7 separate regions of the Homo sapiens genome follow, and all the other regions are linked to region 4. The links are contacts of gene promoters, found by promoter capture Hi-C in blood cells and fetal thymus (Javierre and others, 2016). All regions are on one chromosome and are shown on one strand. Each heading gives the region's core, a stretch centred on a gene start or on the middle of the fragment in contact. The rest is flanking DNA. Distances are from core to core; before and after follow the strand shown. Region 1 overlaps RB1CC1 (RB1 inducible coiled-coil 1). Region 2 overlaps RB1CC1 (RB1 inducible coiled-coil 1). Region 3 has its middle 52 kb from the start of ALKAL1. Region 4 holds the start of ATP6V1H (ATPase H+ transporting V1 subunit H). Region 5 has its middle 47 kb from the start of ST18. Region 6 overlaps TGS1 (trimethylguanosine synthase 1). Region 7 overlaps PCMTD1 (protein-L-isoaspartate (D-aspartate) O-methyltransferase domain containing 1).

Region 1 (3,544 bases), core at 623-3,122, 1.2 Mb after region 4:
GATCCCTTGAGCCTAGGGGTTTGTGAACAGGGATGACATAACAAGACCCTGTCTCTTAAAAAATTGTCATTCTTTCTACTAGCAATGAATCATCCAAAAATGAGATTTAAAAGACAGTTTCTTTTCTGATGGCATCAAAAAGGTAAAAATACTTAGGAATAGATTTAACAAAAGAAGTTCAATACTTGTACAAATTACAAAACATGGAAAAAAGTTAAGACAGTAGGGCATCCTGTGTTTACTGACTGGAAGACTTAATCGCCTTAAGATGGTAGCCCTCCCCAAATTGGTCTGCCAGTTCAACACAATTCTTATCGTAATCTGAACTGTGTTATGTTGCAGAAAAGGGCAGGCTGATCCTAAAATTCATATGGAATTGCAAGAGTCCCAAAATAGCCAAAGCAATCTTGAAAAATAACAAAGTCTCACACTGTTTGACTAATCTTAAAATTTGTAAGCAAGGGTAATAAGACACTGTAGTGCTAGCCTGACTGTATCAGTGGAATAGAATTGAGAGTCCAAAATTAGCCCTCGTATTCATGGTCGGTTGAACCCTTGCATTTTGGTTAAAGGTGCTGAGACGGTTCCGTGAAGGAAATAGCTTTTTCAGCAAATGGTGCAGGGATAGCATAGCTGGATATTCTGATGCAAAAGGATGAAGTTGGACCCTTTCCTCACCATATGCGCAGGTTGACTTAAATAGATCATAGACTTAAGTGTAAAAGCTAAAATTATAAAACTCTTACAGAAGTCAATCTTTATGACCTTATATTAGGCAAAGCGTCTTCCTAAAGAAGTAGCATGTTGAAGAAGACAGAATACCTGCCTTGCATCAAGTTACTTGAAATATAATTTGGGGATTATACCTGTAGATGAATTTTAAAACCTAAATAATAATTGTTTTTCTCTTTTCTAATTTTATAGCATTTTTTAAAATTTTCTAATTTGTTTTTGGATGTTTTAGTGTATTGGGCAAATTCACACCTGGCATAGTAACTAGTGAGTACATAGCATCCACTTAGTAAATCTACTGAAGTCTTTAGCCACTCAAGAACTACGACTTTATCATGGATTCACTCACAAATATTAAGAAGAGTGGTTCTTAATGCCTGGGAAAAATAAGAAATTTAAAGACATCTCTAGATAAATGCATACACAGAGTTTTACTTATTATTTCAAAAGGTTTATAGATCTAGGTCTGCTACAGAGAATATACAACATTGAAATTACATGCTAACTGAAATAAGCTACTTTTGAAAATTTATGAAAACCCTTAAATTGTTAAAGTGATCTGTATTAATATTTTAATTTCTAAAATCTTGAAGAATGTAAAGTTTAGAATTTCAAACTGAAACTCAATTATTCTCACTTTTAGAGAAAATATTCATATGTTGTCTGAAGAAAAACAGCGGATAATGCTGTTAGAACGAGTAAGTAAATTATCTTCTTGAAGTACCATGTTTAATATGTTCACTTTTGGATACAGTTAAACTTCATTCTGGAAACATACAATAGACTATTTGTGTTTATAAATTAAGCCTTTTTATGATTAACTTATTTTTGTGGTCACTGTTTTGGGAAGTCTTGTCATTTTATGATCTTACTAGCTAAACAGTTGACAGTATTTCAGCCCTCCCATTTGTTGTAATTTCCCAATGAATGAAGTCTGTATGAGAGGAAAAAGTTGGTAGTTTTTATTAAATCAATGTGTAAAGTAATAGTTTTACCTAATAGTTGAGAATTCAGCAAAATAACATGAATGGCAATTTTAAACATCTATTTCAAAAACAAAGTATTAAATACTTTTTAGAAATTGGCAAAAACAAAAATAAGTAATGAAGGGAGTTATGTTTTAAATAAAGAATTGAAATGGACAAGAAAAAACTGATAATAAAGGGTTTCCTTTATTAAGGGTACTATAAGATCAAATTGGTACACATTTGGCAGATCATTGTTCATAGATTACTTTTCATTCTTTAGGCCTATAAGATTTTCAACAATGCCTTTTTTTCTTTACAAGTGTAATTGTCTGATAAAAATCCAAATTCAGAATTGTACAACTTCATTTGAATATAGCATGTTTTCTATTATGAAAGGGTTATGTGATTTCCTACCTCAGCATAACCTGAGATGTATGTTACAGATGCCAGATGTATTCTCTTAGGCACGACTTAGTTAACAAAGTCTCTGGGGATAGATCTCAGATTTTTACTACATATTTATATATTCCACAGGTGTTTCTAACGCATATTAATGTTTGACAGTCCTTGGTAAATGTATCTAAAATTGCTCTGGTTCTCATTTAAGCTAGTAGATAATGAAAACATTTGGAAAGAATTCATAGAAAATAATATCCCCATCAACTTTTCATACCCGAACCAAACATTTTTGTCTGATGAAAACTTTGACAATCACTGTTTAGATTTATTTGAGTAGGTACAAGGATAAACCACAGGTCTCTTTTTTCCACCTGCAGACATTGCAATTGAAAGAAGAAGAAAATAAACGGTTAAATCAAAGACTGGTAAGATTTTTCTTCTTGGTAAATTGGTCTTAACATTTTTAAATGATTTGCATTATATTTCATTATGAAGATATTCCATCAGAGGATGTATGCTTTGATTGACTTATCTATAGTAGGTTTGTTGGTCCGTGTTGGTCATTGAATCCTATTGATTTTCAGAATGCTGAAGTCAGGCCAGAGTTATCTCCTGACTGTAGAGTCAGACTTTTTCCTTAGCGTGAAATTAAATAATGTCTTGGCGAATTTACGGCTGTAGGTCTGACCAGTTGAAGCACCTAAGATTCTTAAAATCATCAAAATCAGTTTTGAGTTATGTTTCATAAGTCTTTTGAAGATTAATATATTTACTCACAAGTGTGCGTAATTTTAATACATTGTATCTTTTCATGATTTTTTTTTTTTAAGACAGTCTTGCTCTGTAGCTTAGGCTGGAGTGGTGTGATCTCGACTCACTGCAACCTCCACCTCCCGGGTTCAAGTGATTCTTGTGCATTAGCCTCCCGAGTAGCTGGGATTACAAGTGTGCTGCGCCGTCACACCCGGCTAATTTTTACATAATTAATAGAGACAGGATTTCTCCATTTTGGACAGGCTGGTCTCAAACCCCTGGCCTCAGGTGATCTGCGCACCTTGGACTCCCAAAGTGCTGGGAGTTACAGGTGTGAAACATTGCACCCAGCCCTTTTCATGAATCTTATTTTTAAGTGAAAGTGCCTGAAAGGCAAGAGATCCCATGTGGTACTGTAAATTGCCCTGGTTTTTATTGATTTGTTTTGTTTCGTTTTTAATTAAAAAAAAAAAATCGAGACAAGGTCTCTCTCTGTTGCCCAGGCTGAAGTGTGGTGTTGCGATCTTGGCTCACTGCAGCTTCAACCTCTTTGGCTCAAGCAATCCTCCTGTCTCAGCTCAGCAAGTAGCTGGGAGTACAGGCGAGTGCCGCTGCACCCAGCTAATTTTTGTTTTGTTTTGGTTTTAGGTTTTGTTTTTTTGTTTTCGTAGAGATGGGGTTTCACCATCTTG
Region 2 (3,288 bases), core at 360-2,859, 1.2 Mb after region 4:
TCACACAATTCAGTCATTGTCCTAGCAATGGGAGCACAGATCAGTGGAACAAAATATAGTCCAGAGATAACTGGAGAGGGCAGTGACTTTTCGATAAATATTTTAAGGGCATTTTATTATTTTTATATTTGGGAAAGTGTCTAATATACTACTGTATAATGTTTGCTAGATTAAATCCCTTATTGTTTTTCAGTGACCTTGTTTTGTTTGTGCTGTGACTGACCGATAGTGTTATAGGATTCTAGACACATAGCTTCTAATTCTCATTGACTATTAAGTATGTCCTTGGCTAAGGGGCTTTATCTTTCTAGCCTTTATTTTCTTCTAGTTTGAAAAATTAAAGATGAGCATAGGATTCTTAAAAATTCTAGGTCTTGTGCCATTTATGCATCTACTACATTCGAGAAAAATAGAGGATTTAAAAATATTGTTAGAAGGCACAAAACGGGTTGTGTTTAACATAAAGATTTTCCACTTAACTGAATGTCCATACCTTTCATGAAACAAAATTAATGTCCTTTGAAACATTTTTTTTCTCAAAGGGATTTTTAGCTAATCAGAAGAGAGCTGAAAACTTAAAGGATGCATCTGTATTACCTGATTTATGCCTGAGTCACGCAAATCAGTTGATGATTATGTTGCAAAATCATAGAAAACTGTTAGATATTAAGCAGAAGTGTACCACTGCCAAACAAGAACTAGCAAATAACCTACATGTCAGACTGAAGTAAGTGATTCATTTATATCTGTTTTAAGATGTTTAGAATTGGTATTTATATTTATTTCTCCCAAATGATGGAGTGATTTTTCCCTACCATTTTATTGAAATACCTTATTGATGAACTTTGGAATTAGACTATTTTTGTAGAGCTTATATATCTTGATTTCTTTGGCTTAACTAAGTTAGTAAGCTTACTAAGTAAGTAACTAAGTTAGTACCAGTTTTGTGAATGTTGAAAATAATGGATTTTATTCTCTAGGTGGTGTTGCTTTGTAATGCTTCATGCTGATCAAGATGGAGAGAAGTTACAAGCTTTGCTCCGCCTCGTAATAGAGCTGTTAGAAAGAGTCAAAATTGTTGAAGCTCTTAGTACAGTTCCTCAGATGTACTGCTTAGCTGTTGTTGAGGTTGTAAGAAGAAAAATGTTCATAAAACACTACAGGGAGGTATGCAAGTTGAATTCTATTTTAACTGTATATGAACTTTAACGAATTGGTGTATGTTTATGTTTAACATAAGCTTTCCTCTTCTAGTGGGCTGGTGCTTTAGTCAAAGATGGAAAGAGATTATATGAAGCAGAAAAATCAAAAAGGGAATCCTTTGGGAAATTATTTAGTAAGTGTTCATTAATAATTTTAATTACTTTTGTAAAGGATAAAAGTTTTTATAAGCTTGGATTTTCTGTAGCATACTTCATGTATATGCTGTTAATTGCCATTGATATCTAGGAAATATTCCTTTTAAAGTGTATAGAATTGAATCCATTGTTAAATTTTAAACTTGAAGTACTGTCAACTTTTAATTTACCTTTTCAAAAACCAGAGATAATTTTTTGCCTTAAATAAAGCTCTAAAATAACCATATTGTTAATTTCTTTATACAGGGAAGTCTTTTTTAAGAAATCGTCTGTTTAGGGGACTGGACTCCTGGCCCCCTTCCTTTTGTGTATGTATTTATTTTCTAACCATGACTAAATTCCATATGTTTTAAAACCTTTTTTCCAGAAGTAGAGACATTTATCAGAAACTTGCAGAAATTGTTGTGGTTTAAAAAAAATCAAAATAAAAGTGTTTTTGGCTTTAAAAGCCAGTTAGCATAAAGCTTTAAGATTGATATTTGTATTCATAATTTTTTATAAAGAATCTTCATAACACAGGAAGATACCTTATACTGCACTGTTAGGATTGGTAGAAATAGATTCACTTGGTTTTTTTGTTTTCTTGTCTCTTCCTTTTTTTCTTTCCACCCTTCCCTCTTCTTTCTTCCACTGCTCTTCTCCCTCCCTCCTCCTTTACAGCCTCCACCTCCTCCTTGCCCTTCTATATTTCTTTTCACACCACCCCCCTTTATATTTTGACAAATCAGAATAATAAAGCCTCAGTTAGACTTCACTGGAATTAAACGTTAGTTTGATATGTTTCTAAACCATTGTTATCTGGGGTCATTAATTGTATTACATGAGAAGAAACGTTTCCATGATCAAAGCAATATGGGGGCTTTTACCCCCATCAGATGTACTCTTAGCTGTGTTGTTGTTGTTTTGGAGACAAGAGTCTTGCTCTGTTGTCCAGGCTGGAGTGCAGTGGCACAATCTCATCTCACTGCAACCTCAGCCTCCTGGGTTCAAGCTGTTCTTGTGCCTCAGCCTCCCAAGTAGCTGGGACTAGAGGTGCCTGCCACCACATCCAGCTAAGTTTTTGTATTTTAGTAGAGACGGGGTTTCACCGTGTTGGCCAGCTGGTCTCAAACTCCTGGCCCCAAGTGTTCTGCCCACCTTGGCCTCCCAAATTGTTCAGGTTACAGGCGTGAGCCACCACGCCCAGCCATGCTTAGCTGTTAAACATGTTTCTATACTGCAGGATTTCTTAGTGTTTTAAATGTATGCATTTTTTAATACATAAGAATTGGTGACATAGCGATTCCCATACTTATTTATCCGAGAACTCTTTTTTATGAAGAGCATCTTGGCATCTCCACATCTGCTTGAGTAATGATTTAAAACAAGTTTTTTTTTAATGCAACTCTTGGCAATTTTATAAATAATGAATTGGTAGGATTTACCGGTTAATATTTTTTACAGAAGCTAAAATTGACCAAAACTTTGTCTTCTGGAAAATGTAATGGAAAAGTCAAGGCAAAAGCAAATAAGAAAGTGTTACATGGAAAAAAAATACATGTGTGCATTTTAATATATTAGTGGCTTTAACATGGTAAATATTATATATATACGCACACACTTACATATGTGTTTACCATATGTATATGTACATACATACACATACAGGATAGGAATATTGTAATTCCCATAAAATGATGCTAAAAGCAGAGAAGGGGAGGAACAAGTGCATCCCTTGATCACTAGCAGTTCACGTCGCAGTTTACTAAAGGCTCAGGAAAATAATATGCCATATCTTTATTGAATGGTCTTTTTTTGTTTCTTAATCATTTAAAGCACTTTAGTTTGTTTGGTATAGTAAATTTAATTATAGTAAGAAATCATATAAATTTGCTGTCTGTTTTTGGTTGAAAAAAAATTTTTTAAGTAATTAATTTTTTTGGTACAGACT
Region 3 (3,513 bases), core at 703-3,202, 1.2 Mb after region 4:
TATTTCTCTGGCTAAAATTTCACTAGTGTGTCAAACAGAGATGGTGAAAATGTACATCCTTATCTTGTTCCTGATCTTACAGAAAAAGCTTTTAGTCTTTCACCATAACAGTACGATGATAGCTTGGGTTTTTCACGTATGATCTTTTAGTTGAAGATGTTTTCTTCTATTTTAAGTTTGTTGAGTAGTGTTGTCGTCGTTTTCTATCATGAAAAAAAGTGTTGAATTTTGTCAAATGCTTTTCCTGCCTAAATTGAGATGAATATATGAGACTTTTTTCTATTAGTGTAATATGTCAATTGATTTTTGTATGTTGACTCATCCTTGCATTCTGCGAATAGATCACACTTGGTCATTATATTATCCTTTTGATATGCTGCTGAACTCAAATTTGCTAGTATTTTGTACAGGACTTTTGCATCAGGTACTTTAAGTGGAGGGACCAATTATCTGAGGGTCCTAATCTGCTATTTTCTGTGACATTACTACTGGCCTAATCATTTTAAAGATAAAACAGGCTCAGAGACTTTAGTGACTTGGCCACTGTTGCAGAATTATAATCTCATCTGGGAGTCAAATTGATCACTTCTGACTTCTAACGGTGATTTTCCAATTAGGGGGAAAAATTTCAGTGTGTACCTTAATTTCTTCTAGTGGTTAAAATAGTTGAATCACTGAATGTCATTACTTTAATGCATGGGCCCAAAAGAACAAAAAGGGACTAAAGGGATACATTTGCTGAAAATGAATAGTGCGGTATTTGCTTCAGATGCTCTGAAGTTGACTGATACAATAGATTGGTTATTTCCTGTTTGTTCAAAGTTGGGTGCCTTGAGGCCCTTTTCATTTTGAAATATCTTTATATGTGTTCAGCAAAGTATAGTTTCCTTAAAAACTTTGGGTTTCCTATAAAACTGACAGAAGTTCTCTAAAAGTTAAGTCGTAATTCACACAGACTTCTCTCTGGAAGGCTAGTGTACTATGGGAAAACACTCAAGACTCCTAGGAGCACCCCTTGTCTACATAAGAAGGTCTATTAGGCTTATGACTTAAACCTGAAGTCATAGCAAAGGGCCTAACAGCCACAGGCTTGATTCCTTACCCTGAAACTGTCTGTCTTTGAGAATTTTCAGCTTGCTGCAGAGACTGGATCCAACCCAGCAGAACAGTTTCTTCTCTGTTTCATCTCTCTCTTCCCATGCCTTACTATACAGAACCAAAATAAGCCAATTGATGCTTTGAACATTTCCTGGAAACTAACCTTAGCCAGAGTCACAACTTCATAGTTTTGCCATTTGTTTTGCCACCACAAGACACAAGTTCCTATCTTTCCAGCTTTCAGTAGCAGTTTCTTTACTTTTCCAGCCTCTGCTAGTACAATTTTCTTCACTATTCTTATAGCCTTTGTGAGGCAGTGCCATGCGTTCTAAGTTTTTGTTAGGGCAGCAGTCTCACTGTTGGTGCTAATTTCTGTATCAGGTGTATATTGTGTAACTGTTAATGCCTACATTTGCTGGCTTAAAATAACCATTTGCGCATGTGACTGCAATCATGTCTGGAGATTAGTTAGGGATGCCTTGGTTCCTTTTGAGTCTCTATCAAAATGCCTGGGGTTTCTTAAACAGTGGCAGCAGCATTCCGAAAAGAGTGACAGCAAAAGAAGCTTGGAAGTCATGTCACTTGGTCAAAGTAAGTCACAGAGCCAGCCCAGAGTCCAAGTATAAGAGTAGCTGCAAGGAAATTGTGATCTTTTTAAAATCACATTTTTTTTAAAGTTAGGTCTAAAATAGCTATTGCCCTTTAAGATTTAGATAAAAATTTATCGGTATACTTGGAGTTTGTTTTTTTTTAAGCATATGATTTAATGATGCCTAAAGGCACCAAATTTGGTAATGTTTACTTTAAAATCTCATTTTCATAGATTTATCCATTTTACTTTGAAGTAAAAACTGGAAAGCTGTGAAAACTCTTTATTAATGTCCACTAATTGATAGCTCTTAACGTTAGTCATACTCTTAGGACGTAAGCTGTCTTTGGCCATTTTAAAAAAATGCTTTGTATAGTTTATAATTTTTATGGGTAAGATGGAAGTTATTTCAAACAATTCTTAACATAGTGGTAATGAGACTGAACAGTCAGCTGTAAGCTATTTGGGTTTACATATTTCTTAGGTGTCTCAGACTTGGAAACCAGTTAGAGCTCCACCTGCTTGTTTCATTCCCACCTTAAAATGAAGCTTAATAGCAATACCAATTCTAATGTTAGTAGAAACAAGTAGCAAGCCTCGAGATAACAAAATGCAAGATTAGTCCTCCATGTACTCTTCTAATCAAAGCAGTAATATAATGTACATGTCCTGTAAGAATACACATAGGACTGCCTCTTTACCCAGTATCTATGCCCCATTGAAATACCGTGCTAGTGAACCATTTTAACCATGTCACCCTTTGGCCTTCTAGAGACAAGAATCCCTCTAACTGTACTAAACCATCACTAAAGTTTTAAATGTTGACAATTTAAGAATTTGCAACACTAGGCTCTCAAGAGCTATTTTTACAAATGTTATGTTTTGCTTTGGAATGAACTCTTCCAGTTTTGTGGGACCTAATAGCAAAGATGCTTTTGACAATCTAGTTCCAAATCAGTGGTGTAATACCCTTTTCTTAGACTGCTCTGGAAGTACCATCAATTAATTCCTCTAATAGTCATAGTATTAGTGAGGAGTTAATTAGGTGTCAACTGTAATCTCTCTGGAATTCTACCAGTGGGCTCCTTAACCAGCCCAGGCTTCTAACATGAATTGCCTAGTTTCTTAAAGAATGAGTTCTTAAACTTCTCCAAAAGTACGAAGCTTATCTTCACAAGCATACACTATAACTGTATTCTTTCAGCAATTTCTGGCCTAGTCATTTCTTAAAAGTTTATCTCTACATTCTACCTGATTGAGAAGCACGACTCCTGGAGTTGTCAACATGTCACCTTTAAAATAGGCTATCCATTGTCCAGTAAAAATCTGTGCCTTTTCCTTTCTGTTTTCATGCCACCATATGCTTAATTAGATCCTTTCTAAAAGTAATGCATTTTTTATTAATATTCCCCCAGTTCAGCCTATAGCATCAAAGAATACAGGGAAGCATGAGTGGGCTCCTTACTCCTTAAATGCTGACAATGGCCATTTCACACTCTGGAAATCTTACTAGAGGGCTCTTCCTATTAACAATTAGAACTAAAGGCAATTGTGCATATTTAAAATATTTTGAAGTGCCTTACAAATAATAGTATTTTATTAAATAACTTCATAAGTAAGAGCATTTAAAAATGCTACTCCTTAAGAGAATTCTCTCACCTCTCTGGTCTTGGTACTCCCATGTGAAGCGGGAGTATGACAGGTCACTGCCTAACTCTGAAACCTGTTATTTCCCAAATGACCTCCACGTTAACTAGCGATGACCATGAGCAATTGTGCACTCCTAAGACATCAGAGAGGCTTTTCAAACAATTGAATGTTAATTT
Region 4 (3,067 bases), core at 114-2,613:
CAGTCTGTGGCTTAGGTGATACAGAAAGGAAATGCGAAGATCAGGCCTCACTGCCAGCTTTGCTCAGTTACACAGAAAACATGCTGTTTCAGCTTTTGGGAGTTTCTTAGTACACGATCGGTTTCTTTTTCTCTTTTATGAAAGTTTTTCCCCTTAGATTTGCTTTCAAAACAACAGACTTTCACTTCTGGCTAAGACAGAATGAGTGACCTAGTACAATCTTTGACACTGTTATTATATATCTTTATTCATAATCAATGCATGATTTTGATTATTCTGACTTTAATTTTACGAGTAAAAATGGGTTGGTTATAAATCCCTTTCAAAGAATTTTTTTTTTTTCTTTTTGAGACGGAGTTTTGCTTTTTCTGCCCAGGCTGGAGTACAATGGTGCGGTCTTGGCTCACTGCAACCTCTGCCTCCTGGGTTCAAGTGATTTTCCTACCTCAGCCTCCCAAGCAGCTGGGATTACAGGCATGCGCCACCACACCCAGCTAATTTTTTGTATTTTTAGTAGAGATGGGGTTTCACCATGTTGGTCAGCTGGTCTCGAACTCCAGACCTCAGGTGATCCACTGGCCTCGGCCTCCCAAAGTGCTGGGATTACAGGAGTGAGCCACCGCGCCCGGCCCCTTTCATTGCTTTTTAAGGAAAACATGCTATCATATATACTTCACCTCCAGGGCAGTACATTCTTACTTTAAGGCAAAGACAGTTGCTGAGGCCTGGACTAGGGGAAAATTTGGGCTCCAGATGGGACTGTTGGATAAAATACCAGACGTCCTGTAAATGTGAATTTTAGATAAACAACGAATAACTTTTTAGTATAAAAGTAAATACTGCAATGGAATTTATTATTTGCTAAATGTGCAACCCTAGGTTAAGAGAGCTTTTCAGACCCACTTCTCAGCCCGAGTTTTCTATTTAAAATCAGAATAAGAACGCCTGCTTCATGGAGCTGTTAAATCCAAATGGAAATTAATTTGAAAGCGCGAAATCAAACTTTTCAAAAGAATGACGGTTACAATAAGAGCGTTTTGGCCTCTGCTAGCTGCTTCCGGGCGGAGGTCCTCGGCCTCCCCTAGGCGAGGCACTAGGTCTGGGGGCGGCGGGTCTTAGCGTGCCCGCCACGCTCGCCGCCTCCCACCTGCCCTGGCTGGCTGGGGCCCGACCCTTGCGTCGCTCCGGGGCCCAAGTTACGGACTCGGGAATCCAGTTGTCCGCACCGAACAAGCCCCGCCGCAGCGCCCGCCCCTCCTCTTGCTGCTTTGGAGTCTCCCGGCTTCCGCCTTCCGCAGCAGTCACGTGCCTCCGATCACGTGACCGGCGCCTCTGTCATTCTACTGCGGCCGCCCTGGCTTCCTTCTACCTGTGCGGCCCTCAACGTCTCCTTGGTGCGGGACCCGCTTCACTTTCGGCTCCCGGAGTCTCCCTCCACTGCTCAGACCTCTGGACCTGACAGGAGACGCCTACTTGGCTCTGACGCGGCGCCCCAGCCCGGCTGTGTCCCCGGCGCCCCGGACCACCCTCCCTGCCGGCTTTGGGTGCGTTGTGGGGTCCCGAGGATTCGCGAGGTAAGGCCGCCCTCGCGTTGTTTGGTCTCAGGCTGCAGACCAGGTCAGGCGACTCTTGCAGTTTCTCCAGCTTGCCTGGTGCGTGCTGGTGTCTCGCCGCTTGGTCCTCTCCTGTTCTTCGGCCCCCGGTTGCCAGATTGCTTTTCTTCCAGGCCTCAACCAGGTTTATTAAGCGAAATTCTGGAGCCTTTCTCGCAGGGGGAAGAAACGTCAGGGGCGGGCAGGAGAGTGGAGGGGGAGGGGTAAAAAGTATACCTTCTCCAGGACTGGGCCACGGCCCTGGATCGCTGGGGGTGCGAGTAGTTCAGGGACTTAGGTAATTGTCTAGAGACACCTTGAGCTACGCCAGGACGGGCCGCTGAGGCTGAGCCTCCTTGGCTGCAGAGTTCCAGCCTGGCCCAGTTGAAGCCTGTTTTTTCCTGGGCCCTGTCGTTCGCGCTGCCCAGGGTTGTTTATACAGCAAATCTTCAGATACAGAGATTAAGTTCCAAATTGATTAAGATCGTTGGAAACCCGGAATATAATTTTGGGTAGGATTTTAACTTCTTTGTGGCCATGGCCGTGAATTTATGTTTTGCAAGTGGCAACCTGTATTTTGCTTTGTGTTAAAATCAGTCGTTTGTATCTGGAAGTTTAGGAGTGAGAATTACATAGAATTTCATTATTGTAGGTTCTTGTCGTCCAGCCAGACCGCCATTGTTGGCTTACCTAAATTGTAATATGTATTTGTTCTAAAACTTTCTCTCCGAATTTTGATTTTGCAAATACTATGAATTTTGTTTGAAAAGGAAAGCACTGTCTTCTAAGAAATTATGTTCCCACTTTGTGTATTTTAATTTGAGTAATTTTCGAAAGGACTTAGAATTTTTAATGTGCCACTTCAAAATGATGCTTAGTAAATGTTTATAAAACTAGCCTTATCCGTACTATTCATATTCTTATTGTTTCTCTATGAGAAAAGTTAACCACAATTGTATAAATTTACAATTTTTCCCATATTTATACCTATTCTATTTAATCATGATTTCTGATTTCAGTATATTAGGTGATTGCTTTAAAAATCTTACTGCAGTGTTAGTGCCAATAATGAAAAAAATTTTTCTAGAAAAGCAAAAGCCTAAAGAACTCTTTTATGGAGCAGTGGACAATATTTGAAATATAATGATACTTTCAGACTTAGGACATTTAATATTTGAGTTGAATGCCTGGGGAGATTAAAGTGATCACGATATTCATAATCATAATATTAATAGTTGTAAAAAAAAGAAACACCTCGTATTCTGTTTTTACCTTGCATCAAAATTGAAGATTTGTTGAAAGACATTCAAGATTACGAAGTTTAGATGACCAAAATGGATATCCGAGGTGCTGTGGATGCTGCTGTCCCCACCAATATTATTGCTGCCAAGGCTGCAGAAGTTCGTGCAAACAAAGTCAACTGGCAATCCTATCTTCAGTAAGTACCAATTTGCTGTGAATCATGGACAGTCATA
Region 5 (3,244 bases), core at 650-3,149, 1.4 Mb after region 4:
TTCAAGTTTGGGCATCTGCATCTGGGGAGGGCCTCAGGCTGCTTCTACTCATGGCAGAAGGTGAATGGAGCTGTGCAGAGATCACATGAAGGGAGAGGAAGTGAGAGGGAGGGGAACTGCCAGGCTCCTTTTACCAACGAGCTCTCTCAGGAACAAATAGAGTGATAACTTTCTCACCCTCCCACCTCAAGGAAGGGGATTCATATACTCAGAAATCTGCCCCCATGACCCAATACCTCCCATTAGGCCCCACCTCTAACAGTGGGGACCAAATTTCAACATGAGGTTTGTGGGAATAAATATCCAAACTATATTATAATATACACCATGTTATGTAATAATATTTATATAATTTTAATGTATAATTTACAGATACATTTACAAATCTTAAGTGCACACTAGTTGAATTTGGGAAAATGTACACCTCGATTTGTCTAAAGTAAACACTGTTTTTACCAGAGGAAGTTTCTCCTACTTCTTCCCAGTTAATCCCCGTCTTTAACACTCAGAGGTAATCACTGTGGTGATTCTTTTCTACCATAGATTAGGCTTGCTGTTCTAGAAATTCATATGAATGGAATCAAACACATTGTATTCTTTTGCATAGGCTTTTTTTCACTCAGCATTGTTTTTGAGATTCATGCAAATTGGTGTATGCGTCAGCTGTCTTTTATAAAAAAAACTGCATAGCATTCTATTGCATGAATTTGCCACCATTTGTTTATTCATTGAGATGTGGGGTATTTCCAGATTTGGGTTATTATGAATAAAACTGCTTTTAGCATGCTTGTTTTCATTTCTTTTGGATATATACCTAAGGGTGAAATTGTTGGATCATAGAATAGGTGTATGTTTAGTTTTATCAGTAACTGTCAGTCCATTTTGCAAGGTGGTAATTCTAGTTAACACTCCCATCATCAATATATAAGAAGTCCAGTTGCTCCTTGTCTTCACCAGTATTTGGTGTTATTGATCTTTTTAATTTTAGCAATCCTTGTGACCATGTAGTGCTATCTTATGTGGTTTTACTTTGGATTTTGCCGACCACTGATGATTTTAGGCACTTTTTCATGAACTTACTGGTCACTTCTACAACTTTTCTGAAGTATCTGTTTTAAATTTGCCCATTTCCATAATTGAAATATTTGTCTTAGTCTTTGGTAGTAACAATTCTTCATATAGGTCAGATGCAAGCAATTTGTCAGATAAAGGTTTTTTGAATATGTTCTTTACGTCTGTGAATGTCATTCATGTTCTTAGTGGTATCTTTTCATGAGGGTAAGGTTTTAATTTTGATGAAGTCTAATTCATTAATATTTTTCTTCCATGATTATTTGTTTCTATAACTTCAGAAAACTTTGCATACGTACTCCCAAATATGAAAGCTATTATGTATTTTCTTATGGCCTTAACCTTTACATTTAGGTCTATGGTCCATCTTGAATCAATTTTCATGTATGGTGTGAGGTACTGAATGCCATTTGTTTTCCTCATAAAGACATCTAGCTACTCCAGTTCCATTTGTCAAAAAGGCTATATCTTTTCTCCAATGGATTACTTTTGTGAGTTTTTCAAAAATCAGATAGTCTTTAAATATATGTGTCTATTGCCAGGCTCTCCATTCTTTTCCTTTGATTTGTTTGTTGATCCTTAAGATTGACACTATCCTGAGATTGGAACTTGGCAGTAATTCCTGAAGTCAGATAGCTGTACATCCTCCAAATTGGATATTCTTTTTCAAGATCACTTGAGGCTGTCTTGGTCCTCTATCCTTTCTGTAAAAACTTTACAATCAGTTTATCAAAATCTACTTAAAAACACTGTTGGGATTACAAATATGATTCTTTTGAATCTATAGATAATTTTGGGGAGGAACTGATGTCACAACAATATTGAGTTTTACAATCTGTGAACATGGAATATCTCTTCGTTTCTTTAGGTCATTAATTTTTCTCAACAATGTTCTGTAGTTTTAAATCTAGAGATCTTGTTTCCATTTTCTGTTAAATCTGTTCATTGATATTTCATACTTTTCAGTGGTATTGTAATTGGATTTAAAAATTTTTAGTTTTCAATTGTTTTATGTTAGTATATAAAAGACATTATACATACAAATATCAATTAAAGAAAGATGGTTGGTATCTATCTCAACCTTTAATCCTGCAACTTTAATATAACTTATTAGTTCAGTAATTGTTAGAATTTTTTGTACTGATAATTATATTTTGTGCAGATAAAAACAATTTTACTTCTTTCTGTCAATCTTTTTACCTATTTCTTTTTCTTGGCCCTTTAAAATGGCTAGAACCTCCATATGTTGAATAGAAGTAAAAAGACTGGGTATTCTTCCCTTGGTCTTGTAAGGAAGAAAGTGGTTATTATTTTACCATTAAATATAGTATCAGCTGTAGGCTTTTCTTAGATGCCCTTTATTAGACTGAGAAAGTTTTCTTCTATTCCTGGTTTTCTGGGTGTTTTCTAAAATTAAAAAATGATTTTTTTTTTTGTTAAATGCCTTTCTGTCTATTAAAATGATCATGTAGTTTCAATTTTTATTCTATTAATGGGATGGATTACATTGATTCTCAAATATTAAACCAGCCTTGCAATACTGGGGTTAGCCCTATTTAGTAATAATTGCCAGGTCTAATTTGCTAATTTTGTTAAGTATATTTGCATCCATTTTCATAAAAGGTATTGGTCTGCAATTTCTTTTTTTCTTTTGTAATCTTTGCCAGACTTTGGAATGACCTTATCTAATGAGTTGGAAAGTATCTCCTCTTCTCTATTTTCAGAAATAAAGTTTATATAAGATTGGTTTAGAATTTACCAGTGAAACCATCTGAACCTGGAGTTCTTATAGAAAGGGTTTTGATAACAAATTCATTTTCTAAAATAGCTGTAGGGTGGCTCATATTTTCTGTTTCATTGCCTCAATTTTTGAAGGACGTATTTTTCAAGGAAAGGTCGTATTTCATCAAAGTTTTCATATTTGGTGGTATAAAGTTGTTTTTGGTAATATCATTTATTATCTTTTAATGTCTGTAGGATCTGTATTGATAACCTCTTTTTCATTATTGATGTTGATAGTTTGTGTCCTTTCTCTTGATCAATCTGGTGTATCAATTTTGTGGGTCTTTTCATAAAAACATATTATGACTTTGTTAATTTTTTTATTTTTTCTATCTTTATAATTATTTCATTAATCTGCACTTATTTTCATTATTTCTTTTTTCCTACTTAC
Region 6 (3,394 bases), core at 859-3,358, 1.9 Mb before region 4:
TTCTTATTGGGCTCTGCCTGCCACTATTCATCCAGCTGCCCATTTAACTTACTCTTATTGAGCATCTGCTCTATGTTGGGCACTGTGCAAAATACTGAGGATGGAAGGAAGACAGAACAGGCCATGTAACCCTGGTACGTGGAGAAAATACTTATATGTTCACATTCTTTATCTGCAAAATTACTGAACTAAGACAGTGAATTTAAAAATCATGATTTGTGAAGTTATTTTAGGAGGTATTAACAAGAGCGGGTGAGAAGCATGTCTTCATGCCCCTCACAGACACTTCAATACAACTGGGATTTAGGTTCCGGGATTCTGTGGAAGAGCTGATTTAACAAAAGGATTCTGCTATTAGAAGTTTGAAATCCTGGGGTTGGGCACAGTGGCTTATGGCTCTAATCCCAGCATTTTGAGAGGCTGCTTGAGGCCAGGAGTTTGAGATAAGCCCGAGCAACACAGCAAGACCCTGTCACTACAAACAAAACCAAAAACCAAAAAACAAACTACCCTGGTGTGGTGGTGCCTGTAGTTCCTGCTACTTGGGAGGCTGAGGTGAGAGGAATGCTTAAGCGATCACCACTCAGACAACAGAGCAAGACCCTCTCTCTCTCTCAAAAAGAGAAAGGTTTGAAATCCCCTAAACTGGAAGATTTTTTTCAAGCTCTCTGAATCTAATTCTTATAGAAAAACCATTTATTACAACAAAGTAAGTTTTACTTTACACCAATATGGTTATCTAATAGTAATTATACCATTAATTGAACATATGCCATTCAAGTGCTCTATTAACTTTAAAATGTGAGATAACAAAAAATCATTTTATGTATTAGCACACTCAATTAGCATTGGGCTGCACTCCAGCTTGATGGTCTCAGGCAACAGAACAGTAAATCTTATATAGCCAAAATGAAGACTGATAAAGAGAAATCTCTTGTGTGCAAATTCTGCTACAAGAGGGAGAAAGATACCTTTCTAAATAATGAAGGGGATTCCACTCACTACTCCATTCAAATATACTTACGAAAGCTCAGGAGACAGCAAAATGGAGAAAATGAGTAAGCTAAGTTTTATGTTCCTTTCATTGTATGCATATTTTCTTATGCTCGAGGAGCCTAGTGTTATAGGAACTTTATTTGTATAGCATAGCACTGAAACACAAACCAAACATTCCATCCAGTGATCAACTGAAGAAACAGTAATTTGTTCCATCGCCATGAGAGTTAAAGGGTTTCCGAAGGTAACTATGACACTGTACTTGGGCTGACTTTGGCTTCTAACTCCACGCTGTAATTTTCTCTGTGTCTAGGAACACAAAAGGTCTATGTGGAAGGACAAATGCAGTAGGGAAGTTTGAGACATCAAAGTGAGGCTCAATGTACAGTATAAATTATATTTGTTACTTGGGAAAGTTAACCAAGATGACAGTCTCTTTACTTCAGGCAAAAGACTATAGATGTTCACCTGGAATTTTTATCCCGTAGCATTTTTTTATCCTGCAGCATTTACCTACATAATACACTTCTCATGAAGTGTATTATGATTAGAATTTACATATTCTAAATTGGAGATGGAGTCTCACTCTGTTGCCCAGGCTGGAGTGCAGTGGCACAATCTCAGCTCACTGCAAACTCTGCCTCCTGGGTTCAAGGGATTTTCTTGCCTCAGCCTCCTGAGTAGCTGGGATTATAGGTGCCCACCACCATACCTGGATAATTTTTGTATTTTTATTAGAGATGGGGTTTTACCATGTTGGCCAGGCTGGTCTCGTACTCCTGACCTCAAGTGATCTGCTTGCCTTGGCCTCCCAAAATGCTGGGATTATAGGCATGAGCTACCACGTCCAGCCAGAAACCACATATTCCCTACTTTTCAAAGCTTTAAATTCCAGGTTGCTCTTATCTAATGGTGGCAACTCAGGAAGGAACACTACACACAGCAAAAGAGGCTACATTAAGTCAGCACAGGAGCTATAGAAAAATAAAAGATCTGCTTTCATAGAGATTCCAGAACCATGTTATAAAAGAAAATAAAAATTGTCTGATTACAGAATTATTTGGCATTTATATTTTATGCTAACAAATCAATACAATATTATAACAAATTATACATAAATTAACACATTATGGCTAATTTCAGCAAAAAAGGTTTATAGAATTTTATACTATATTACCTGAATTGTTGCCACTGTCTCTGATGTAATAGCCTTTTAATCCCAAATTGTACAATTTTCGATCCCTGCGAAGCAGATTAAGCAGTTCATATTGAAATGAATTAAGCCATCAGTTTAGAGGGAAAGAAATCTCGAGCCATCATAGATTAATTAATAAAAAGCTTATGAAACAGAAAAGCAATCTGCTAATACATTTCCCTCACTTATAATGTAGAGGCAATAATACATTTGTCATGGAGTTGTTGTAAGGACTGATAGTATATGTAAAATATTTAGCACAATGCTTAATACATGGTAGCATTTATTACTATAACTGCTAGTTACTAAAATTAAGGCTGGGCACAGTGGCTCCCACCTGTAATCCCAGCACTTTGGGAGGCTGAAGTGGGCAGATCACCTGAGGTCAGGAGTTTGAGACCAGCCTGGCCAACATGATGAAACCCCATCTCTATCGAAAACACAAATTAGCTGGGCGTGGTGGCAGGCGCCTACAATCCCAGCTACTAGGGAGGCTGAGGCAGGAGAATTGCTTAAATCCGGGAGACAGAGGTTGCAGTGAGCTGAGATCACACCACTGCACTCTAGCCTGGGCGACAAGAGCAAAAATCTATCTCAAAATAAATAAATAAATAAATAAATAAATAAATAAATAAATAAATAAATAAAGTGTAAGTTCTTCTGGACATCTGATATTCCTTATGATACATAAACAATGGGGTGTTCTCTAAATTTTGTTGTGAATAACAGTGGAGAGATTTAGCTTACATACATATAAATCAATATGCAGACACTAATCCATTTGCTAATAAGACAAACTATCCATTGTGAACAGTAGACAAGGTATTCATGGTCTGAGCAAAGGTTACCAAAATAAACCTAACAGAATACTTAAGAAAAAGTGGAAGACTCTGCTTTTAATATCTTCCTGACTATAAATTCAGCTGTAATAAACTCCACTGTAACTGCCACAAGAAGGCCAATTGCAAGTGGAAGCTAACATAACTTTTCTAATGGAGCTACAATAAATTTAACTAAATAAAATTCTAGTGTACTTGCTCTATTTCACATCCTCTTGCTTCTTTTTTGGAGATACTATATTAAATGTAAAGTAGGTGGTGACTCAGCAGGATGATGAACAGGCAAGGGGGTGACGTGCAAATGTGCTTTGGCAGCAACTGGTCCCCAGGAACATGGGCACTGGGGGTGGGAAGCAGGAGCTGC
Region 7 (3,325 bases), core at 483-2,982, 1.9 Mb after region 4:
CCAGCCTGGTCAAAAGAGTGAGACTCTGTCTCAAAAAAAAAAAAAAAAAAAAAAAAAGAAATGGGACAAATACTAACATTAATAAAGTATGGTCAGTTGTAATCTGTATTTGAGAAGAAACCAAAAATACAGGAAAAGCTTTGACATTTTACTGGCAATTGTTAAGGATGATAATTGGATTCATACCTAAATGGCGTATCTGCCATTGATTATCTCTCGGTCAACGTAACATTGGATGTTGGATGTGAGTGGGTTTTATAATTAGGTGACACAGAAATATTTCAGCCCCCTAAAGACGTTTTTAGAATATGGTAAGATTTTTTCAGCTGTTGAAGTGGGGAAGGATTGTGAATCAAACACTATGTGTATGTGTATTCTCAAAAATTAATGAGAGGTATTGCTGATGGGAAGACATAGCATATTTTCCAGTTTAACCTGAAAATCCTTTTTGGAACATTATGCACGGGTAGCCAGAAATAACTCAACTTTATGTCTTGATACAAGACATGCATCAGGTATGATTTCTAGAGCTTAAAATATTCTTGGAGTTTAAAAACTAATTTGCATAAAACACTCTTCTGTGTTTTCTACTGAGCACTCTTCAGTAACTTGCAGGCTCTTAAAAACCTTTAATGATAATCATGTTATCAATTGATGAAGTCAGTTCAGTTTATAATCTAAAGTTATAATGAGCATTGAAAGAGCTGTAGAATGTGAAATGCTGTGAAGGTCTGTCTTGGTGACTTTCACAAACTGGCATCTCCAACTCTCCCTTCTTGGGGCCTTTGTTTGTTTTTCTCTCTCACTTCCTGAAGTATAGATAGATGTTGCCTGTAGGTGTTACCTTAGGTTTAGTTCTTTTCCTTTTTAGAGTTTGTTCTCTTCTTTGGCAATCCCACACAGATCCGTGGTTTCAACTGCTCATTCCCCTCACCCTCTTTGCTCAGGCTTCCACTTGTGTATCATCAGCCTTATTTTCATTCCCAAGCTTCAGATTTGCCAATGTTGTTCTCCCTGATCAACTTAGTAGCTGTCATTTTGTAATCTTGAATCAGTAGATTCAGAATTAAACTTTTTTTGCAAGCCTGATTCTTCTTGCTTGTTTATATTAATGACCTTTGCATTTTCTTAGTCATCTAGACTCAAAATCAAAAGGTCATCCTTGGTTCTTCTCTCTCTCCTTTTCTTAGAATTTTTTTTTTTTTTGTCATCTTACTGCATTGTGGTTCCTGATTTCTTCTATCTTTCTTCAGTTCTTCCAGCAGCCATATACACAGCAAGAGACATTAATCTCTAGGTTTGTCATTCATTGTGAATACTGCTTATTAATTGTCCTAAATGTAGTCCTGATCATGTTCCCTGCCTGATGACAAGCAAACAAAACAAACCCACTTGGGTGTTTATGTCAGTCAGTGTGCTGAATCCTTTGTTCTCATGTGGTCATTATAATTTATATTATCCCCATTCTACAGGTGAAGAAATTGGAACTTCATGATCTTGAAGGAGTTGTTAGTAGGTAGAAGAGCTCTGGGATTTGAATCCCAACCATGTCTTCTTCCAAGTCTGTGTTCTTGACCACTGTGCCTCTGCTGAGTGGCTCCTGATCCACTCTGGAAGAAAGCCCGAGTTCCTCAGTGTTGCCTTTCAAAACTGCATTATTTGACTTCAGTGCCCCTTTCAAAACTTATTTCTTGTTTTAGTTTAAAATATTAAGTTACATTCTTTCTGTCCCAGCAGCTGTTCCAAAAAGAATGTAAACTTCAGTTTTACTTTACTTTTTTGATTTCTTATGCATTTCCATTTCTTGGAATTTTTTTCTTTCTCCCATCTCTGCCTTTAGAAGTCTTCCATGTAAAAGTCTAGTTTATACAGCGTACACCGTATTTCCCTAGAGCCCCCACCTCCCAGTCTGTGTAGTACAGTAGTAAAATCTCCTGCACATTCATACAGCTGTTTAACCTGTGATGATACTTTGTACTCTAAATTTGTTTTGAGTACTCTAACAGTTGTAATTGGATTATATAAGATGCTTGAAGCACAAACTATGTCTTACTGTTCCTTGTGTCTTCCAGTGGGTGCTCAGGAAGTATGGGTAAATAAGTATGAAAATGATCACTGGTAAACTACCCCTTTCATTGGTATTTAAGCAGTATATTTGATTTTAGTTTCTCTCTCTCTGTCACACACACTAGCTTGTTTGAGTTTTTAATTGTGTGTGTCCACAACAGAACTAAATTTCTTGTTGTAGGCTATCATGAATTGTTTTCAGATTATAAGGTAATTATATTGTTTATTTAAGACAAATCAGTTTTGTCTTTCCATGTGCACATATCCTTTCTTGGTACTGTATATAAATTTTTAAAAAAATTAATGATTTAGTATTTGAATTATTTTCCATGCTGTTGAGTCAGACAAGTTTTCTAATGAGCTGCAATATTCTCATAAACTCTCTGATCTTACAGTTTCTTTAAGCTTGCATAGATGTGAAAGATGGAGTACAACTCTGTCTATACTTTAGTATTGTTTTCTTCCTTTTGGTGATATCAGGAAGCTCCAGCTGTACAATCAGCTGAAATGCCCTCACACAGATTATACATAATTCTTACATTGCTGAAGAGTTCATATGAAATTTCAGACTTTTTAAAAATAATCTATCGATGTTAATGGTTATCATGCAGAAGTTACAGTTTTTTCTTATATCTGCCATTGTGCCCTGTATTGTTTATAGTTTATCTAACTAATAAGTAATTAATTCTTGCTTTATAAAGTAAAAATATAATTCTGTTAAGAATTTTGAATGTAGGATATCTTGGTGATGGGAAGAGACGTTTTCTTTTTGGAATGTTAAAATGCATGCTTATAAAGGAATGAGACTGATTCTCAAACTAATCCATTTGTAGTCTACCTGCCCTTAGCTTTATAAAATATTAAAGTAATCATAAATACTTCTTTGAAGATACAAATTGTAAGTGAGCTTAAAATAATTCACTGACTTTAAAAATAGTTAATATATCACATGTTGCAAATTTTAAGTGATACAAAAAATATATAAACTGAAAATGTATCTTCCTCAGCCTCCCATTTTCCCCCCTGGGATGGGAAGTAGTCACTTACCTCTGGAATGATATAATGGAAACTATTTTTTTATTTGTATGTACAATGAAATATAAATAAATTTTCTTTCCACTTACATAAAGATGAGGTACACTGCTGTTTTTTTCACTTGGATTTTCACATAACCATATATCTCTATGAGGAGATAAAGAACCACTTCATTCTTAAAAAAACAATTTCAGCCTCAGAGTATATTATAGATAGCTACAGC

Evidence for each region. The method cuts DNA at HindIII sites, captures the fragments that hold promoters and counts their contacts. A CHiCAGO score of 5 or more calls a contact.
Region 1: a contact is called between a fragment that was not itself captured here and the fragment with the promoter of ATP6V1H in region 4, in 7 of 17 cell types (non-activated CD4 T cells, naive CD4 T cells, neutrophils and 4 more). The highest score is 9.5, in non-activated CD4 T cells.
Region 2: a fragment that was not itself captured here is called in contact with the fragment with the promoter of ATP6V1H in region 4 in 8 of 17 cell types (naive CD4 T cells, total CD8 T cells, total CD4 T cells and 5 more); the score reaches 9.0 in naive CD4 T cells.
Region 3: a fragment that was not itself captured here is called in contact with the fragment with the promoter of ATP6V1H in region 4 in 4 of 17 cell types (naive CD4 T cells, naive B cells, total CD8 T cells and 1 more); the score reaches 6.9 in naive CD4 T cells.
Region 5: a fragment that was not itself captured here is called in contact with the fragment with the promoter of ATP6V1H in region 4 in 1 of 17 cell types (M0 macrophages); the score reaches 8.1 in M0 macrophages.
Region 6: a contact is called between a fragment that was not itself captured here and the fragment with the promoter of ATP6V1H in region 4, in 1 of 17 cell types (activated CD4 T cells). The highest score is 5.5, in activated CD4 T cells.
Region 7: a fragment that was not itself captured here is called in contact with the fragment with the promoter of ATP6V1H in region 4 in 2 of 17 cell types (non-activated CD4 T cells and neutrophils); the score reaches 6.0 in non-activated CD4 T cells.

Annotation. Positions count from the first base shown.
Region 1 is chr8:52,633,901-52,637,444 of GRCh38, reverse strand. It overlaps RB1CC1 (RB1 inducible coiled-coil 1), which reads left to right. Exons shown (of 24, transcript NM_014781.5): 19 at 1,376-1,430; 20 at 2,477-2,524. Among named protein-coding and RNA genes, the nearest start is that of ALKAL1, 70 kb to the right of the region's middle. The HindIII fragment of the contact is 6,087 bases long and covers 1-3,544 here.
Region 2 is chr8:52,658,974-52,662,261 of GRCh38, reverse strand. RB1CC1 (RB1 inducible coiled-coil 1) reads left to right here. Exons shown (of 24, transcript NM_014781.5): 9 at 543-727; 10 at 981-1,167; 11 at 1,255-1,336; 12 at 1,605-1,666; 13 at 3,286-3,288. Among named protein-coding and RNA genes, the nearest start is that of RB1CC1, 54 kb to the left of the region's middle. The HindIII fragment of the contact is 430 bases long and covers 1,395-1,824 here.
Region 3 is chr8:52,615,177-52,618,689 of GRCh38, reverse strand. No RefSeq gene overlaps it. Among named protein-coding and RNA genes, the nearest start is that of ALKAL1, 52 kb to the right of the region's middle. The HindIII fragment of the contact is 573 bases long and covers 1,666-2,238 here.
Region 4 is chr8:53,841,541-53,844,607 of GRCh38, reverse strand. ATP6V1H (ATPase H+ transporting V1 subunit H) reads left to right here and starts at 1,363. Exons shown (of 14, transcript NM_015941.4): 1 at 1,363-1,574; 2 at 2,883-3,030. The coding sequence starts at 2,918. RefSeq lists a silencer at 1,055-1,204 and an enhancer at 1,275-1,414. The HindIII fragment of the contact is 7,596 bases long and covers 1-3,067 here.
Region 5 is chr8:52,454,666-52,457,909 of GRCh38, reverse strand. No RefSeq gene overlaps it. Among named protein-coding and RNA genes, the nearest start is that of ST18, 47 kb to the right of the region's middle. The HindIII fragment of the contact is 6,246 bases long and covers 1-3,244 here.
Region 6 is chr8:55,781,592-55,784,985 of GRCh38, reverse strand. TGS1 (trimethylguanosine synthase 1) reads right to left here. Exons shown (of 13, transcript NM_024831.8): 2 at 2,174-2,238. Among named protein-coding and RNA genes, the nearest start is that of TGS1, 9.8 kb to the right of the region's middle. The HindIII fragment of the contact is 456 bases long and covers 1,881-2,336 here.
Region 7 is chr8:51,892,671-51,895,995 of GRCh38, reverse strand. The region is part of intron 1 of PCMTD1 (protein-L-isoaspartate (D-aspartate) O-methyltransferase domain containing 1); the gene reads left to right. Among named protein-coding and RNA genes, the nearest start is that of PCMTD1, 4.7 kb to the left of the region's middle. The HindIII fragment of the contact is 1,484 bases long and covers 991-2,474 here.